Regions from separate parts of the Homo sapiens genome. Here region 1 is linked to region 2. The links are contacts of gene promoters, found by promoter capture Hi-C in human tissues and cell types (Jung and others, 2019). All regions are on one chromosome and are shown on one strand. Each heading gives the region's core, a stretch centred on a gene start or on the middle of the fragment in contact. The rest is flanking DNA. Distances are from core to core; before and after follow the strand shown. Region 1 has its middle 210 kb from the start of PPP1R3A. Region 2 holds the start of LSMEM1 (leucine rich single-pass membrane protein 1).

Region 1 (7,417 bases), core at 1,263-3,762, 1.2 Mb after region 2:
AAGTAGTTATTTAATCACAGGTTTAATAGGTATATACAAGATCAAACCTGTTGGAATGAATATATGATAGAGGAGTTGGATCAAATTTGTATAATCATGATAATCCATTTGGGAAGTGTATTTGTACTTTTAATTTCTGAACTTCTAAGAGAATACGTGAATAGCCCCATTGGCATTGCTAGTTATCCCCTTCATTATTTCGAATCAGGCTTTTTTGAGATTGTTTTGTCAGAATTTCATGTTATCTCTGAATTTTTTTCTCAGAATTTCAAAAATGTAATTCTTTAATGTATATGTCAATCTGTGCCCATGTTTTAGGTACTTTACACATTATCTCTTTGGATTCTCACATAACCATGGGAGGCAAGTTACACTTTTTCTAATTCACAGGTGAAGGAACAGAGGTTCAATGAAATGAAGTGACTTGTCCAGGTCAAGACATGCAGCAAAAGTCAAAGTGCTAGAAATGGAAGAGGCAAAGACAGACATTTGCAGACTAGATGATTGGATGAAATCCTAGCATCTGAAACAGCAGTGGGGGCACACCTCTGGAGAAAAAGGAAAGCCCTGGGGCCTTCCAAGGGACCACAAGGACAAAATGTTGATCTCACAGCAGCAGCTGCCTAACTGCCCAATGAACTCATCTTCAGGCAGACTTTGAATAGGTCTTTGCCTCTAGGAGATAAAATAGAAGATTATACAGGCCAAGTACGAATGAGACTAACCTGGGATGTGGTTGCCAAATATCTGGAATACGTAAAACACAAAAGAGTTTTTATAAAACAGTAAATAAAACAAATTTTAAAAGGAAATATAAATTTCTTCCGATGTCTGAGAAAGTTTAATTTGTTTATATGCTGTCTCAAATGGTATTATAGAATTGTAGCATTGGAAAAGGATCTTAGAAATCACTATATTGGCATCATTGTTAATAGTTTATCTCTAAGTAGATAATAATTAATTTTAATTCATGACAGAGTCTACCCCCCATTATCAACAATTACCTTTCTATCTATACAGTGTCTCTCTCTCTCTCTCTCTATCCATCTTCCATTATCCACAATTACCTTTCTATCTATCTATTTATTCAGTAATTTTCCTTCTTAAGGCTACTTGACAGGTCTGCGACGTTTGCTCTTTGCAAAAAGGCAACATGCCATCTAGTGGTCATAAACTGAATTGCAACCAGGAGTCCCTCAGAAAGCATGCACTTACTTAAGGTGAATGGAACTTGTAGGATTTGCATAATAGCTTACTGGGTCAACTAGGCACTAATCCAAATGTCTCAGACACATAGAATATCTGTCATTTAGTCAAAATCCTCTATGTGGCCTTTTCCTTTTTATTTTTTAGTTACGCCTTTTTTTAAATCAGTTTGGTTTTCCAAACCAGAGGGTAAGCCCTGGGCTGACAAAGTATCCAAATGCATCACGCTGTCCTAGAATAACTATCTACCCAAGTACTAATATTAAAATATTTAGTAACAGAATGACATTCCCTAAGATACTGTCCAGACAGCTTCCTGAGAATCTGTCATAGTCTCCAGAAGTTGGTGGCTTGATAAGTTCTGTTAGTAGTTCTCTTCCAGTGAATATAAATTTAGTTACTTAAGATGACTCAAGGGGCTAGTCATAAGGTGATTATCATCTGCCTTAAAGTTGACTTTATTTGAAATTAACATAGCAACACTAGTTTCCTTTTCTTTAGTATTTTTCAGTGTATGTTTCATCATCACTTTACTTTCAGCCTTTCTGTGTTTTAATGCTTAGATGCTGTCAGGAAACAAAGCTAGAACAAAAATAAATTTAATCTTAAAATCTATATTTTATTAATTCGGTTACATTTTTGTGATTATTAGCATGTATTTGGACATCTGTCATCTTTTTTTTACGATTTTACATCCTTTCTTGCTTAACTTTCTGCTTGTTTTGTAATTTCCCTTTTATTCTTCTACTAGCTTAGAAATTATGTATTTTATTTTCATTTTCTTTAGCAGTTGTCCTTTTATTTTTAACATCCATTCTTGACATAACAAAGTAGAACATTCAATAATATCTCTGTCCTTTCAAAAACATTAGAACAATTTATTTTTTAACATACTCCCCTCTTTAAGGGTAGCTGTCCAGTATTTTAGATACTACTTGCTTTGGAAGTCCTCAAAACCAGATACTTTTTGCAATCAAAGCTTACTGAGTTTTATTAAAATGTTTAAAATTTCTTTAGGGAAAATCACTTTGTGCATCATCATTTTTTTTCATCAGAATCCTCTTTTGTAGATACTTAAATGTATCAGTTAATTTTTCTTTCAGTAAAATCCACAAACTGAAAAGCTCTCAGATATTGTCTGAAAAATATGCCTTTATTTTGCCTTTATTCTTCATCAATCATTTAGCTGGGTATAAAAGTCCATTTGTTCAATCATTTCTCCTGAGTCCTTTGAAAGTATTTTTCCACTACCTGTGGTAGCTCTTGATGGTAAAAAACAGTTTTTATTCTGCTTACCTTTCCTTAGTAGATGATGTGTCTTTTCTTTTGAAACCTTTAAATGTTTTCTTTTTATTTTTATGTTCTGCAGTTTCATAATAACCCACTCATTGTGGAATTAATTGCATTTTCTTGCTCTGAATTTGTGTGCCACTTAAATCAAAAATTTTATTTTTTTCCCTTACATTTGGACAGACTTTCAGGCAATATTTCTGTAAATATTGCTTCACTGCTAGTCTCTACCTCTCCTTCTGGAACACCTTCCAAATAAACATGAGACTTTCTCACTCTATCTTTGGCATCTCTTAATATGCACTCATTGTGATGGTTAATTTTATGTGACAACTTGGCTATGCTAAAGTGCCCAGTTGTATTGGTCAACAACAAGTTTAGATTTTGAAGTATTTTTTAAAGATATGATTAGTATTTAAATCAGTAGACTTTGAATAAAGCAGATTATCTTTCACAATATCATGGGCCTCACTTAATCAGTTAAAGGCCTTAAGAGAAGAGATTAAGATCTTCAGAGAGGGAAGAAATTCTGCCTCTAGACTACCTTCCAACTTAAGACTGCAACATGACTCTTCCCTGGGTCTCTAGCCTGCTGGCCTGCCCAGAAGATTTGAGACTGTCAGCTTCCACAATAGCATAAGCCAATTCCTTAAAATAAATCTGTTTCCTTCCCTCTTCTCTCTGTATCTTTCTGTCTCTCCCTCACATGTTTGGACTTATTTCTATCACTTTGTTTTGTTTACTATTTTCCCTCCTTTCTTTGCTTAATTATCTGCATATCTATCTATCTATCTGCATATACACACACAGAGGCATATTTATAGATATATCTATATCTATATAGCTAGATATAGATAGAGGCATAAATCTATCTGTATCTATATATACTATATATCTATATATATACTATATATCTATATATCTATATATACTATATATCTATATATCTATATATATACTATATATCTATATATCTATACTATATATCTATATATATACTATATATCTATATATCTATACTATATATCTATATATATACTATATATCTATATATCTATACTATATATCTATATATATATATATACTATATCTATCTATCGAGAGAGAGAGAGAGAGAGATCATATTGCTTCTGTTTCTCTGGAGGATCCTGGCTAATAAAATCATATTTTCAATTCCATCTCTCTATGCTGCCTTTGACATATACTGAGTGATTTCTTCATCTTCAACATCTTGCTTACTAATACCATTTCAGCAGTTCCTAATCTGTTTAACTCTTCCATTAAATTATTTTTTTCTTTAATTAACATTTACATTTTGTTTGGTCTTTTTTTCTAGTTTCCCTGTGTGTGACCATAGCATTCTATCATACATTAACATTTTCATTCCTGCTTATCTGTCTTTAAAAATTATTTTGAAAAGCTTATTTTATAATATTTTAGATTGTCTATCATATCCATATTTGGCTAAATGTCTACCATGGTAGTTTGATTCTTCATGGGAGTCAGGTTATTTTTCTGTGGAAGATTTGTTATTCTTAAGTTGTAAAAATGTCTGTTCCAGACTGGCTTCTCCTGAAGCCTTGGAAGTTTCTATGATTCTCGTCCTTGAGCCTTCCTTGAGAACTGGCTCGCTGTACTGTCTTCATCTCTCACCATGCCTCATCTGGATCAGCCACTATCCAGATCATCTTCATTCGAGTGAGATTTTATAGAGCATTTCTTATTTGATATCACTTATCTGGGTTTGTAATTATATATTTATTAGTATGGTTATTAGACAAAAATCTATCACTTCCTCATCCTCAATAGACCCTTAATTCCACAAGTAGAGAAAATATTTATATTTTTATTTACCCACTTGACATAGTGCCAGACATATAGTAGTCATTAAATTAAATATCAATTCATTGAATGAATGAGCAGTAAGCACATTCTTTTCTGCTAATTACCAGAGTTCTTCCTGAATACATTTCATTCAGATACTGAATGGATCAAACTTTTTGAAACTATTATTTTTTGTCCTATCCCTGCTATTGTTGGTGCTTCTATGGCTGAAACATTCAAATGCCTGAAAGAGCCATATACTCATATATTACTAATTAAGGAATTTCTGAGTTTTTGAACTTTTGAATTTAGAGTCATGTAAAATCACCAAAAGCTATCTTCTATATGTCCACAAAACATACAAGTATCTCCAATAGAACTGCAAATTCTCCCGCACATGAGGAAGTGTTTGATCAGGGCAAATATCAAGAAGTGATCACAAACAAGAATGAGATTCCTAACTCACGGTTTCAGAAAGATCAATCATTATCTAAGGTTGGAAGCCTGCAGCATAGTACCGTCTTAATGCTCAGGTGGGATGTTTGATTCCAAAAAGCTTTTGAGTTTTAGAAAGGAAGTGTGATAAGGGTTTAGCTTAAAGCAGATTGTTACCATTTTTTATTATATAACATTACAGTAATGTTATATACAGGGAGCTCTCACTTCCTGTATGCTTCTTCTGGAATACCTCCTGAAGGATCTGCCTCAGGCTGTTCTACACTTAACTTTTTGTACTCCAAGAAGGAGTACACTCTAAAATAATGATTAAAAAGTGTAATACAGTAAATACATAAATCAGTAGCATAGTTGTTTATTATCATTATCAAGTATTATATACTATACACAATTGTATGTGCTAGACTTTATCAACTGGCAGCACCAGCATCACCACACACCCGTGAGTAACACATTGTCCTATGATGTTTGGACATCTATAAAGTCACTGGGCAATAGGATATTTGCAGCTCCATTGCAAACTTATGGAACCTCTGTGGACTATGCAGTTTGTCATTGGCTGAAACGTTGTTCTGCAGCACATGACTCTGTGTGTGTGTGTGTGTGTGTGTTTCTGTGTGAATGTGTGTGTGTAATTCTGCTGGCCTTCATACTTATAGTCAAACTAGTTTTAAATAGCAGTATCCTTTTAGACTGCTTGGGGATCCCATCTGATTAACTGATGTCATTGCTGAATCGGTGGTTAAATAACTCAGTTGTTAACTATTTTAATTTGTATATATGTGCATGTACATGAGGTAAGATGAAAAGATAAATGGGTGGCAAAGCCACCTGTTGCATGGATGTATTTGGTTCAGTCAAACCATACGTAGCTTCACATAAGTAGTTTCTAAGCAATGAATGAATTTTAAAAAATATTCAGACCTTGACATTAAAAATAACCAGGTCTATAGACCTCTGTTATATTGTCTCCCTTAAAATAATGTTGAATTAATTTTAATTTTCTAACTGGCATGACTCATAGCTTAAATGTTTTAATTTATCATAAGGACAAAGCAAAAGTTTTAATCAGAAATATAATTTAATTATTGCAAATGTAATGGTTGGTCAATTACTAGTGGCCATTTTTTCTTTTTTTTTTTATTTTAGCCTCATAAATAGTCATCTGGCATTAAATATTTGTGATCTAGGCCAGTAACCTTTTTCAGTCTCGCAGGACCTTTTTTAATTAAACTATGTCTTTGTCCCATGTCTGTAATCCTCTCACTGACATTTTATATACAAGACACCTTGCTGAAAAAAGGTCAAGCAGTACAGTTATAAATGGAAAAGAGATTAAAAGAATTCTCAAGCCATGGTGTGATCTAAGAGCAAGTTAAATATGGAGCAGGTCTTAGTAGACATGCTCAGTAGACAAGGAGGAATCCTCTGGGTAGATTTTAATGATTGGGGCAGGAAAGCAAATGAAAATTATTTTCATGGCAAAAATAAAAAAAAGCACATTTTTCATAGGCCACAATAATTACTGTAAAAGCCCACCATAAGGTTTTAGTAGCCATAAAATGTTCAGGAAAACAATTGCAAAATACATTCACAGTGTTTGTATAATTCTTGCCTACAAAGACATTTTTGTTGCTCCAGTAAACCTGGCAAATGTCAGTCTAGTGTTAAGGTTAATTAACCCTAGAAGTAAAAAAAAAAAAAAAAAAAAGAGAAAGAAAGAAAAGTTGAAACATATATGTATCAATGAAGAATAAGAACAAAATTCAAAAACTGAGTAAAGAAGTGGGAGTAAGCAAATGCCACATTACTGAAAATTCTATTTTTACCTATATGTTGAATAGTAGTTATCGTGTTTGAAAGGTAAATACATTTACAGAAGTGAGTTACATTATTATCACCGGAACATTAAGCAGAAATTGAAAACGGATTTTCCCCCCTTAATATTCTCCAGCTGGCATGTTATGACTAAAACTTGCTGAATCCATGCCACACTGTGATGCATTTAATGGTGTACATGGGTACAACTAAACAATACATTACTTGTAGTGTCTGAAATAACCCAGCAAAGCATGGTACTCAAGTGCTGAAATACCACTGTCTGCTTCTCAAAGGTTGCTTAGTTATACCAAAGAGGCCAACCTTCTCTGAAAAGCCTTAACTGCTAATTTCTTTCTGTCACTTTTATATAGTCCAGTCATAAACGTGTACTCTTTTGTTCCTATGCCATCAGAATGGTGTTATTTAGATGTTAATGCAAGAGGCAAAGCAGTTGACACGGGAGCTTTAATCATAGGACTTGATTAGTGCTTTCAAGGTTCTTAGTGTTTTGTTTATAAACAGTATATTTGGTTCAGTCAAACGTCTCTTAATTTCTAAAAAAAGAAAAGAGGACAAAAAATACAATAAACTGAAACTAGAGCTTTAACTCTGACTTAAGCTAAACCTCTGCGGGTGTTTCCCAGGCTTTGGGTTTCTGGGTGGAATCTTTGTCGGTGCTAAATGGAAAGGTTACTGTCTGCATCCTTCAGCTATTATAAGACTGCTGGCAGGGACTGAACTCTCAGGATCCAGCAGACCATTCCCTGTCCAAAGTAACTGGATGCTGTGTTTCAGAAATGTGATAGTTGACAGGCTGACA
Region 2 (7,157 bases), core at 78-2,577:
AACAATTAAATTCCTTAGTCTCCATTTCCTTCCTCCTTCAGGGGAAGTTAATATTCCACAAAGTTAGAAGTTACAGGAGAGGAAAAGTAGTAAACGCCCCAAAATGAGGCAGTTACTTCTATTATATCTTCAAAGGATACATGGCTCAAGGCAGATCAGGTAGTTGGGAGATTTCTTAAAAACAGCATAATAGCTAACATGAACATTTTCATTATTCAGAGAAATTTGACATAGCTTTTTAACGTATGTTTCTGAGAAAAGTTACTAGTTATATTGTCTTCCTCCAAGAATTAGTCTTTGGGTACAGATGAGGCTTGAAAAAATGACATTCCCTCTTAGACTAGGTAGTGTGAAGGGAAAAAAAAAATGACATTCCTCTTCCCCCAAAGCAGAGTGAGGTCCGTATGGGATATAGGTGTAAAGAAAATTTTGGGCCGGGCATGGTGGCTCAAGTTTGTAATCCCAGCACTTTGGGAGGCCGAGGTGGGTGGATCACTTGAGGTCAGGAGTTCAAGACTAGCCTGACCAACATGGTGAAACCCCATCTCTACTAAAAATAAAGAAATTAGCCAGCTATGGTGGCACATACCTGTAATCCCAGCTACTTGGGAGGCTGAGGCAGGAGAATCTGGAAGCAGGAAGGTCTCAGTAGGCTGGGATCATGCCACTGCGCTCCAGCCTGGGCAACACAGCAAGACTCTGTCTCAAAGAAAATTTTGTGGAACACCTATTTTCTCACTGACATGAAAAATGTTTCAAAGATGAATAATGTCCATCAAGCTATGGCAATGGAAGTGAGGATGATAAAGGATTGCACAGTTGTTCACAACCTCACTGTTAGTATCCTGCTGAGATAGTTGGTCTCCTCATCACTGTAGCATCTTTTATGTACAGCAGAGGGCAGAAGCTCCTTGGCATGTATGTGAGGGAACCACATATATGGAAGGCTGTTATTCCTGAGAAAGGAGGATGTGCAGACACTCACAGAACAAAGCCTTTGTAAAGGAAAGGCGGCCGATGAGATGGAGTGCTTCCTTCACCTGTGGTGGGTCTGTATCCATGAAATCGCCCACTCACAATCGCTTTTTGTAGCTACTGGAAGCACTAGGCGTCTGACCTGCCATCATCCTTGTTATGATGTCATAATCATATTCTGTCCGTGTTTATTGCAGTTCTCTGGTTTGTCTGGAGTGTTTGCAAGTCAGTCATCATAGTGGCAGCTTCCGCCTGCTACAGGATATTTATATATGGAAGCATACCATGGCAGGAGTGCTGGAAAGGTGGTGTCAGCTAACAGTTGCTTCAGCCAGATAAGGACGGTAACTTCAGTCCAATAAAAACCTCATCAGTTACCAACTAAATCAGGGCATGGTGTTTTTTTGTTGTTTTCTTTTTAAAGCATAGTTTTAGTAATATATTTACTAAAAACCTTAGACATTATGAAAAAAGTCAGGATTTGGAATCTTACACTGCTTGGCTAAATTGACACAATATAGACCAACAGTTTCATCCTGGGGCTTATGGGTCTCATAGGAGCACCCGTATGCTGAAGAAAGGCAAAGAGAGAACTACAGAATTTGTAGAAAAGTTTTGTTGTAGTTGCTTCTGAACAATTAGTTTTTGTTTGTTTGTTTTGTTTTGTTTTGTTTTTCTGGTAACCTAGCAGTCAAAGCTCACATTTTTGTAAGTAATTTGCATGCTATTACTCTACTGAGACTGAATTATGATTCTCGAGTCTGGGAAGTTTTTGTTGCATGTGCTCTGTGTTTTTCATTTTTGATAGAAATGATTTAGACTTGATTTTAAAAATTACTTCCTGAATGTGAAGAGGCATTGACTGGGAAATGAAATTAAAGAACAAATTACCATGACTCATTCAATAACACTGCTTATTAGCTTTGAATTATGCCCTATTATAACAATTCTGATTTTGTGGCAAGCAATACTGGTGTGAGTTATTTCTGTGGTTTGATACCAAGCACCTGCCTGGTTAAAAAATAAAGCACCAGGCAATTTTTCATAGACAATTATCTTTATTTGTTGGAATATTTATTTGTAAATAGTCAAAGAATTCTTAAATGACAAAAAATCAACTGTTAGCAGTGATCTAAACCAGAGGAAAATGAAATTACTTACATGTTTCCAGTCAAGGTATAAGAAAGGGTTCTGTTAAAGGGATGCTGCTTTAGCCAATCTTGGTGAATAAGCAAATTTGCACACTGGAGTTGAAAGGAGGGTCAAGTTAGTGTGATGAAGAATTGCTAGTAACACTGGCTTCTCCAGCCTTGCTGGTTGTTCCTAGATGCCCTCATTTGGAGATGCCAAAGATAGCAACTACTGGGTGTCAAACAGCCGTGGGGCCTGGTTTTAAGGCCATGTGATCTTGTATCCCTTTACTAGCAGCCTCATGAGTCATTTGCAAGTCATTTGCAGGCTCTTGGAGCCCTGGAACAGCACCCAACTCAGTTTTCTCTGCTAGTTCTTTATTTTTCCATTTGCGTGTTGCAGCTCATTAAAAAAATATTGGAATAGCATATATTTACATTGTGACTTCACTCTAAAGAAGACATTTTCTTTCAAAGCACGTCATGGCTCACTAGGTTGTTGTCTTAGTTTTTTTTGGAGTCACCTTTTGAGTAGATAGCAAGACCAGTAATATGGAGATTTTATTAGCTGTACTCTTAAAGTCAGTTTTTGTGGCCATGATTTTCTAGCTAGGTCTCTATTTTGTAAACATTGATTAAGCCTCAGTATGAAATTGAAGCAACAGCAGATACATTCCTGAAGGGGAAGCTAAGGCTCAAGGCTATTAAGTCAGAGATCCAAAAATGAACCATGCTTCAGTTACCACACCTAAAATAGAAGCTGTGTGCAGAACAGTGGTCCTGTGATGTGACACATAAAACTTTTTTTCCTGGTCACATATTACTGTTTGGTCAAATATTAGTATAAATGGATGATAAAATATGAAACACATCTAAAAGAATTGTTTTAAAATCTGTGACTATGCATGAGTGAATATTTTGGGGCCTTGGTTTTAACTGCAAAAGGATAAGATTTGACTGACCTCTAAGGCCCTTTTACTCTATTTGCTGCTGCTTTTTAATTTTTTTTAATTGTCATATCAAGTCATTTCCTTAGGAATGCTCTATGAAGTATATTTGGAATTCAGTAATGTCAATAAAGTGCTATGGTAGTATCTTATCTGAAAACTCAGGGAATTGTTTGTTCTTGTTAATTAAAATTTCAAGATAAGTGAAACACACTTTTTTAGTTTTAACCCTAAAAAAAATTTTTAGTCCATGACTTTTTGAGCTCACTTTCTTAGCTAGGGTTCTGGTAGCACATTTTTCACAAGTACCAGTAGTTTTAGGTATTACTGGGAAATTGTTTTTTTAATATTTTAGACTAAGTTTAAATTGCTCAGTAAGTGTCTGATACTTTTTTTCCCCACATCTTCTTTAGGTGTATACTTTTTTTTTTTTTTTATGAATTTGGTTTCTCCCAACTCTATATTGCTCTTCATTCTGTAGATGAGTTTTAAAGGAAATTTTTGCAACAACAGAAAGTAAACAGTGTGTTGTCAAATACACACAGGCACCATATTTATCGCATTGACTTTACTAGAGTCCAGATAGACATCACATGAGGATTTTTATCCTCAATCTTATTTCTGTTCATGTACTTATTATTAACTGCCTCCAATTCTTTTGAAAATGGTGAGATTTAAATCCTAAATAAACATTTCAGGTGTTCCATCTTAACATAAGTCACCAACTTCTAAACCTGGCACTGGGCATTTGAAGAATAGGATTCGTCCCTACTCTAAGGAGTTTTCAGTCTATCGGGAAATCAAAGATGTAAGCAAATAGATGCAATAAAATACTACAGATGTTCTGATAGAAGAATGTAAAGAATCCAGCAAAGGCAAAAGGAAAGACAGGTTGGTTCTCTCTTCCTAGGGGAAGTGATGTTTGAGCTGAGTCTTGAGGCAGGATTAGGAAGGGATATAGAAAAGAAAAGTAGCACAAAGCAAGACTCATTGAATGCTGAACAAAAGGCCCGATTCCAGCTCTGCTGCCAGGCAAATGTGTGATCCTGGGCATTTACCTCGCCGAGCTTCCATTTCCTCATTTGCGGAAAGGATGGGAACTAAAGCACATCTAACACCCTTTCTAGATCCAAACATCCTCTATCACGATTAGACTTGATAACCATGAAAGGAAAAGCTTTTATAGTAATTGAAATTTGTCTTTCTAGAGGCTTCTTTTCACATAATTAAATGGCCACAAGTTCTCTGTTGTGCTAGAGATACATCTCCACATAAACCTTTTAAACTCTTCAGGATTTTCAGTGTTGCTTGCAGTTGTGCTGTCGTTAGAGAATATTACTTTCAATATTTAATAAACCTCAAGCTATTACATAAGTGACCTCAGTCTAAGGGAAACCCAGGTGGAAGAGATCTCAGAGGTCCTGAAGTCTAGCAGCATTCCTCTCTATAGCAGCTAAGTTTGCTAAGATTGTTGTCTTGGGGACTCACAGTCAGCATCTTATGGCTAAAGGAATTGTGTGAAGAGAAGGACTTACATGCCATATGGAGGGAGGCTATAAAAATTGCAATTTTCTATTAAAGCCTCCTGCAATTAGAATGGTTCATGGTAATATTCTCTTTTTTCAGAATGTTTTGTGGCCACTGCTGACTAGCTTAATTTTGTCTACCTAGTCTTCTTGCACAAAGGATTTGAGGCATCTCACCAGAATGTGAACAATGTAATAAAAGAAAAATTTTAAAATTAGTTACAAAATAAAAACAGATCCAGGGAAAATATAGGCAGAACTGAGACATCTGAGGAGGAGAAAAGAGTGTTTGCAGATAAGCAGGGTATACATGGATGTACAATTCTTAAAATTGGGCCACACATTTGACTGTGAGCTTCCTGGCAAGCAAAGCAAAAAGAACGATTACAAAGTGGTCCACAGAAGGAAATATTTTTTTCTGGATAAGCCAAGTTCTCTAGAGCCTTAGTTGAAAATACTATTTGTGGGTGGTTCTTCATAGGCCTGTCTGGCTTCCTGGTGGCTGTGGTTCTTGTGAAGTTGAGTTCACAAGCCCAACCTCTTGTTTTTAACATCAGTGTTTTCTTCCAGGGACAATGACTCATTCTTCCCAGGACACTGGTTCTTGTGGCATTCAGGAAGATGGAAAGCTTTATGTGGTGGATTCCATAAATGACTTAAACAAACTAAACCTCTGTCCAGCCGGATCGCAGCATCTGTTCCGTATGTGTGCTGGGGAAGGCACAGCAGCCCTTCCTAGCTTCTAGGCTACCTAAAAATAGCCACTGCTGACTGGATGTGTGGGTGTGGTGGAGGGGGAGGGGGCATTAGGAAGAGGTTGGCACTGGAAATGTTATTTGTTGTTGGGCAATTTTGCTTTTGTTTTCTGAATACTTGACAGGATTATGGGCTTTCTTGGATCCTACACGAGATTTGAACTCTTGACTTCAAATATTCTGAGATCCTGTGGCGTTTCTGTCCCTGGAAAGGGGTGGAGCCTGCAGAGCTGGACTCCTGGAGGCTGGCTCATCCCTCTCCTAGTGACCATGGCTAGGTTACCGATGGGGACCACTTCCCACAGGAGTGTTGTTTTATAGCAGATTGCTGAGAGAATGCTCAATCCAGAGCATTTTCTACTTACAAGTTACAAATTGTGCAATTAAGGGTTGGAGAAAGGGGGTGGGGGGAGCAAAATAAAATCTGCTAAATACTAAGTGTGTATCTTGCCTCCTAAATATTATAAATGAGCTTTATCAGATCACTCTGAGTGCCATCTTTTCTAGCTTAAATGCTGACATTCAAACACCAGTGTTAATTGCTCACTTGCCATTTGTTTCATATGCACTCTAAACTTACTGTTCCAATTTTATATCTATTATTTCCTGTCTAAATCCTTTCCAAGTTCCTCCTTTTTTTCTTCATTTTAATAAGTTCAAATTTTCATCTGTTTTTATTGCTGTCAGTCTCAATAGCAGTAGAAGTTTAGGTGTCAGCCCTATGCTGTTGCTTTGATTAGGAAGCAAAAGTGGCTGAAGCGTATGGCATAGGATGTACTTATAAGGCATGGGACATAAGCCACCCATCTGTCCATAATCAAGTGGCACAGTGAGTGGGACCAATTCAACGTAGGAGAGTATGCAAAAAGTAATCCAGTGATCTCCACTACCCCAGGTTTCTGCGTTGCTTATTCACTGCAACAAATAATCTGGGTGTTATTAGGCAACTAGATCTTGCAAAACGGTGATTAAATGCAGTCAATTCTTGGTTTGAGTGAACCAAGCTGTCGATAAAATGTAGCTGCATTCTCAGTTCAACTGCAAAGCATTTAAAAGAACGTTGCTTCCAGAGCATATCCATCCAGAAGACAGCTTTAAAAAACCAAAATAGGTCAGGGCCATTTTTGTTTAAATGGATGTAGGCTTAACTGATTATTCCTATAATAAAAGAAGTTTCCAGGGAAATATCCCAGAGCATTCAATTGAGTCTTCCACCCAGCATAGGTATCCCACAACCAGCTCTGTTTTACTCCTGGGTTACTTTGGGAAAGGGTAATAGAACTTCTATCACTCTTAGCCTTTAACTTCTATATTCCCTCTCCCCACACACAAAAATTCATGTTCTGCTATTTCAGTGTTAAGACAGTCTTCAAAGAACTTTCCAAAGAGGTCTAAGGAGATAGCTTAACCCTGCTTATTCCTTGAATACCAATAGAGAAGAAGGTAAATAATTCACAAATTTCTCTGTGCCCAAAGACATTCCTAAAACAGAAGTCACGGCCGGGCGCCGTGGCTCACGCCTGTAATCCCAGCACTTTGGGAGGCCGAGGAGGGCAGATCATGAGGTCAGGAGATTGAGACCATCCTGGATATCATGGTGAAACCCCATCTCTACTAAAAATACAAAAACTTAGCGGGACGTGGTGGCGGGGGCCTGTAGTCCCAGCTACTCGGGAGGCTGAGGCAGGAGAATGGCGTGAACCCGGGAGGCAGAGGTTGCAGTGAGCCGAGATCAAGCCACTGCACTCCAGCCTGGTTGACAGAGCAAGACTCTGTCTCAAAAAAAAAGAGTCACTTTCTAGGCTTGTCAGAGAGAAAGTGGGT

Evidence for each region. Contacts are between HindIII fragments. The study calls those that stand out against the background at their distance.
Region 1: a contact is called between a fragment that was not itself captured here and the fragment with the promoter of LSMEM1 in region 2, in 1 of the 25 tissues and cell types used here (dorsolateral prefrontal cortex).

Annotation. Positions count from the first base shown.
Region 1 is chr7:113,709,322-113,716,738 of GRCh38, forward strand. No RefSeq gene overlaps it. Among named protein-coding and RNA genes, the nearest start is that of PPP1R3A, 210 kb to the right of the region's middle. The HindIII fragment of the contact is 3,767 bases long and covers 630-4,396 here.
Region 2 is chr7:112,479,664-112,486,820 of GRCh38, forward strand. It overlaps LSMEM1 (leucine rich single-pass membrane protein 1), which reads left to right and starts at 1,328. Exons shown (of 4, transcript NM_182597.3): 1 at 1,328-1,683; 2 at 5,149-5,280. The coding sequence starts at 5,154. The HindIII fragment of the contact is 9,789 bases long and covers 1-4,718 here.